Linked DNA regions of Homo sapiens: region 2 is linked to region 1. Evidence: promoter capture Hi-C in human tissues and cell types (Jung and others, 2019). All regions are on one chromosome and are shown on one strand. The core of a region is centred on a gene start or on the middle of the fragment in contact, and the rest is flanking DNA. Distances in the headings are between cores, read along the strand shown.

What was found. Contacts are between HindIII fragments. The study calls those that stand out against the background at their distance.
Region 2: a contact is called between a fragment that was not itself captured here and the fragment with the promoter of EDNRA in region 1, in 1 of the 25 tissues and cell types used here (hippocampus).

What each region holds. Positions count from the first base shown.
Region 1 is chr4:147,479,847-147,482,546 of GRCh38, forward strand. EDNRA (endothelin receptor type A) reads left to right here and starts at 1,251. Exons shown (of 8, transcript NM_001957.4): 1 at 1,251-1,530. RefSeq lists enhancers at 1,941-2,040, 2,071-2,150. The HindIII fragment of the contact is 3,954 bases long and covers 1-2,700 here.
Region 2 is chr4:147,524,961-147,527,660 of GRCh38, forward strand. The region is part of intron 3 of EDNRA (endothelin receptor type A); the gene reads left to right. It overlaps LOC124900795 (a long non-coding RNA gene), which reads right to left. Exons shown (of 2, transcript XR_007058311.1): 2 at 170-1,572. Among named protein-coding and RNA genes, the nearest start is that of LINC02507, 43 kb to the right of the region's middle. The HindIII fragment of the contact is 3,028 bases long and covers 1-2,700 here.

The DNA of each region.
Region 1 (2,700 bases), core at 1-2,500:
TCTGGGATTTGTGACTGCTTGACTAATAGAATCAAGCAGAAATGACACGGTGCCAGTTTCTGGGCCCAGCCCTTAAGAAACTGGCAGCTTCCACTTTCTGTCTCTGGGGACATTCACTCTTGGATCCCCGCCACCATGCTGTGAGGAAGCCCAAACCACAAGTCTCCACAAGTCTTTGTGGAGAGACGCACGTGGAGAAAAACTAACACTCAACACCAAGCAAGTGAACTGTCTTGGAAGTGGATCCTCCAGCCCCTGCTACATGGAGCAAAAACGAGCTGTCCCAGACAGGCTCTGCCCAAACTGCAGACTGATAAGCAGAGTAAATGAGTGTTGTTATTTTAAGCCACTACGTTTTATAGTAATTTGTTTAGCTGCAGCAGATAGCCGGAACAGCATGGGATATAACATGACCAGTGCTCCAACCTCACACTTCTACCATGTGCTGACTCTAGCAGTGCACTGAAGGACTCCAAGGCAGGCCTTCCCTGAGGAGACCCCAGTTTTTACTCACATGTCACAGGCAGTGGCCTTTGTCCCTCATCTCCTCTCCCACCCCCAATTTAGGATAAAGTATCTGCCGTGATAAAGACGTTGAGACCCACTTTCTGTAAGGTCGGCTTCTTCATTGTTTGAATTTCTTGAGGTTTCACGGAGCCACGCGCTGGAACCTTCCATAGTCTCTCCTGAGGCTCCTTCTTTGCCCTGGGCTGGAGGTCTGTAGCCGTGGGATGCTGGCTACAAGGGACAAGATAGAAGCAAACCACCTGATCCAGTAAACTGCTGTCCACTTCGGCTCCTCAACGGCCTCTAAGCTTAAGAGGGAGCACGCAAGCCAAGCAAAGGCGGCAGGGAAGACGGAGAAGAAACCACCCGTGGGCCCTGGCTCTGTGTCCAGTTGTTCCGTCACAGATCAAATCTGCCTGCACTAAGAGGATGGGTTCCTCTGCAAGGCCTTTCGGAATTCTGAGTCTTGTCTGTCAAACTCTACCCTCTCTCCTCCACATCCCCCACCTTTTCTTTCAGGAAGGAAATAGTTAAAAAAGACTCCTGCCCTTCAGGGCCTGGAAGGGGGCGGCAGCTTTGTGCTTTTTAGTGGCCGCGTCCCAGGATAGCTGGAAGGTTAGGACGCTCTTGCGGTCCCAGAGTGGAGTGGAAGGTCTGGAGCTTTGGGAGGAGACGGGGAGGACAGACTGGAGGCGTGTTCCTCCGGAGTTTTCTTTTTCGTGCGAGCCCTCGCGCGCGCGTACAGTCATCCCGCTGGTCTGACGATTGTGGAGAGGCGGTGGAGAGGCTTCATCCATCCCACCCGGTCGTCGCCGGGGATTGGGGTCCCAGCGAGACCTCCCCGGGAGAAGCAGTGCCCAGGAGGTTTTCTGAAGCCGGGGAAGCTGTGCAGCCGAAGCCGCCGCCGCGCCGGAGCCCGGGACACCGGCCACCCTCCGCGCCACCCACCCTCGCCGGCTCCGGCTTCCTCTGGCCCAGGCGCCGCGCGGACCCGGCAGCTGTCTGCGCACGCCGAGCTCCACGGTCGGTGCAAGTCTTTCTTATCGGGGACTGGGACTGGGGCGGGTGCGGGGATGGCGGAGACGCTGCCTGGGCCCCTCGGTCGGGAGAAGACGAGAGCTGGGAACGTTCTGGCCCGACCGCCCTGCAGCTTGGGCGACCCGTCGCAGCAGGGGCTGGCACCCACTTGCCCCAGGGCGCGCGGGGAGGCGGGCGCCTTCCGTGAGGGGTGCGCTGCGGACACGTGTAGAGTTCGGGGAACTTCACCTCTCCACGTTAGGGTTTAGGATTCGGAGTTTTAGGAAGAGGAAGCCCAATAGTTTTCCCTGGGTGACCCCTTTTCCCCAGGCATGCAAGAACTTTGAGGAACGCCAAGCTCTGTGGCTTGCTCCAGCGCCTTCTTGTGAAGTTGGCTCCACAGCCTTTTCTTACTGGCTTGCTTTTCCTCCCCCACATCTGGGTCTGGGTATGCCAAGGGTAGCCAAGGGCACTCGGTGTGAGGGACTGAGGTGTTTGGGGAAACCCCCTGTGTAGCTAGTTTTGGAAACCTGCCTGTGGAGGTCTGGGCGTTTTGTTCTGTGCTCGCCTTTAAAGGACACTTGTTGCTTCTCACGTGCAGAAAACAAGGGCTGCTTCTAGATAATCACCCTCTGTTTACATCATCCTAATGGCTTTCCCCTGATAGAGTTGGGGGTGGGAGGCATATTAAACTCAGGCGTTGTCTCTAAGGAGAGTTGCTCATTTCTTAACCAGAGAGCAAAACCTCAGAAAACTTGTAAAAAGTTCCTACTTTTACTTGTTTTTTCCTCCACCTGTAGTTGTCTATGTGTTAGCTAATTGAGAAACACCTTGGCAGTCATTTCATGTAAATTGAATGCTCTAAACTCATGCCATTTTGATAAGGTCTGAATTTCCAAATTACCAATTACAGGTGAACTTTGATCCTGAGAGTCTCATATGTTAAATGGTTAAAGTGTAAGCGTAAGGATTCAGTCCTCTTTCTTAATAATAGTTTTTGCACTCCCCAAACTCTCAGATTCCAAACAGGAAGAATGCTGAATCTATAGACCATGTCCTTCAGGTCTGAACCTGAGATGCTTCACTAGCGCTATGACTGATTATGAGTGATGATTCAAAGCACAGCCTGACTCAGATTCCTGGAAATGAGCTACAGACCCACCTTGGAAGAACCTG
Region 2 (2,700 bases), core at 79-2,578, 45 kb after region 1:
GTTTGGAACCTGTTGCAGTTTGTGAATCCCTGCTTTCATTTTATGAGCTGAATAAATTATGGCCCAGGACAAAGAGTTCCCATGATTTTTTTACACAGTATTTTAAAAACATAATTATCTCACATTTCAGAGTTGTTTGAAAGAAAATGAGAGAAACCTTACATCCAAGTTCTATAGGATTTCTTTATTACTTCGTCAATCAATGATTACAGAATGATGTAAGATCAAAGAAAATATCTAGCTTTCTCACTATCAGCTTTTAATCTGAATAAGCTAAACAGGACTGAGAGAAAGCACATGATTTCTGCCAGAATGGATAGGCTTTCATTGCTAATTTCAACTATGGACTTGTCTCAGTTTAACCTTTTGAATAATTCCTCCGCAAATCTAGTTTCACATCCTTGGTCATTTGAGAAAAAGACAAATCAGGAACTGAAGAAATTCAGAAACAAATTTTGACCCCTATCCAGCTTTCTTGTTGAATTATCTTTTTAATTCTAAGGCAGTATACTTCTATAATGAATAAACTTTTCCCAACAAAAATGAATAACCAGCCATTACCAGCTATTAAAATAGTTATTTTTACATGCTGAAAGTGACAAGTTTTATATATTACTTTGAGTTTGTTTGGAGGCAAAAAAAAAAAAAGCAGCAGCAGGAGAGGGGTAGGAGGGATCACTGTTGATCTTTGCAAAATCGTGTTAAAGTGGAAGATGATGATGATGGGGTCAGACCAGTAAAAAGGTCTGGGTACAGATCCAACTTGTTAAAAGTTGCCTGGGGAAGAAGGCTATAAAAAGATAAAACTCTTTTAACAACTATTCCAGAGTGATGTGTTATTAGATACTTGGAAAAGTTGCAAAGATCCATTAATGAGGCAGCTTTGTTTTATATGGCTGAAAAGCTGATGTCAGTTCTTGAACCCATCATTTCAAATAATTGATCAGTGGTCTCTGTGATATTCTCAAAGGTATATCCTAACTCAAGAAACATGAAGGTGGTTTTCAGAAAAACCTCTTTGTTAGAGTTGGACTTGGTTTCTCCTTATTTTCCTGGTGTTATGGTTTTCTATTGCACCATGACAATAGTGAAGACACAGAGGAAGGGTCTGAGCCAGAAGACATGAGCAGGGAACTGGACAAAGTCCAAGGCTGGCTAGGGCAATAGGATCTTATTTGGGAGTCTGTTCACTATCGTACTGAGTTATTTGTTCTTTTATCTTATTCTATTGTCAAGATCAGGCAACTGGTTAATTTTGCTACCCCACTTCTCTTTGATAACTACCCCAAAACTTAGCAATTCAGAACAACAACCGTTTTATCATATCTCACCATGTTGAAGGTCAGGAATTTGGGCAATTCTTCTGCTCCTTGTCACGTCACCTGGGGTTGGTGGACTTCAGCTGACTCTGAGCTTGTGTCAGAGGTCCAACACTCACATGCCTGGCACCTTGGCAGGGACAGCTGGATGTCTGAGCTCAGCAGAGCCCATCTCCCCCTCCATGTAGTCTCAGGGTCCTCTCTGTTTTTGCTCCAGCAGGCTCAAGGCTCCTTTCAGAGGCCAGACCTGGAACTGCAAAACATCATTCTAGCCACACTCAATTGATCAAAGTAGTCACAGGCCAGCTCAATTTAAGAACTCAACTGAAGAAGTGGTAAAGCATTTGCAGCTGTCTTTTAATTCACCACACCTGATTCTCTTCTAAATTGGAATTGGCCAAGCAGTTGCAGTGGCTCAGCCTTAGGAGGCCGAAGCAGGAGGATGGCTTGAAGTCAGGAATTCAAGACTACCCTGGGCAACATAGCGAGATCCTTGTCTCTACAAAAAATATTTTTAAAAATTAGCCTGTCATGGTGGTGGGCACCAATAGTCCCAGCTACTAGGGAGCCTGAGATAGGAGGATCCCTTAAGGGAGTACAGGTTCTGGAGGCTACAGCTATGATTGTGCCACTGCACTTCAGCCTGGATGACAGAGTAAGACCCTATCTCTAAAAAAGAATTCTTCCTGCTAGCATTTAGCTTCCAAACCTCCATATGGTATGAGAGATATAAATCATTAACAACCATTACAAATGATCAAGTTTGCTGTTAATTAAAGATGTGCAGAGGTAAAGATAGGGGCGGCACTGTACCTTATGGAAGTGGTAAATAAGAATAAATAATAAATTCTAACACAGGCAAGCATTCATTAACAGGCACTTGGTAGAAACTTCTTTCTTAAGGCACTTCAGCCACCTATTTATTCCCTGATCCAGTAATCCCACTCAAGATAATTAATCCAGAAAAATCATTCAGAAAGAGAAAAAAAATTATGTGTACAAACAAGCTTATAGGCGTCTTATTCACAGCTGTGAAACACTAGAAATGATGTGAACATAGAAAAAAAATTCAAGTAAATTATATCAAAATCTTGTTATACTGTGTAGCCATTAAATTGATAAGGGCCACGCCCGTGTAGAAACATAGGAGAGTATTTTTAATGTAAATAAAGCTAAAATTTAAAAATTGTGAGTCATATGATTATAGTCTATTCAAACTATGCCTGTGAGAATCAAAACAAGAAAAGAATAAAAAAATAGATTTTGTTGAAGTGGTATCTTTTTAATTTGTTTTATTTTATAATGTTTTAAAGTTCTTTCAAGAATAAACATTTTTAAACTTAATGACTATCCCAGACCACACCTTCAAGATTCAATAAAC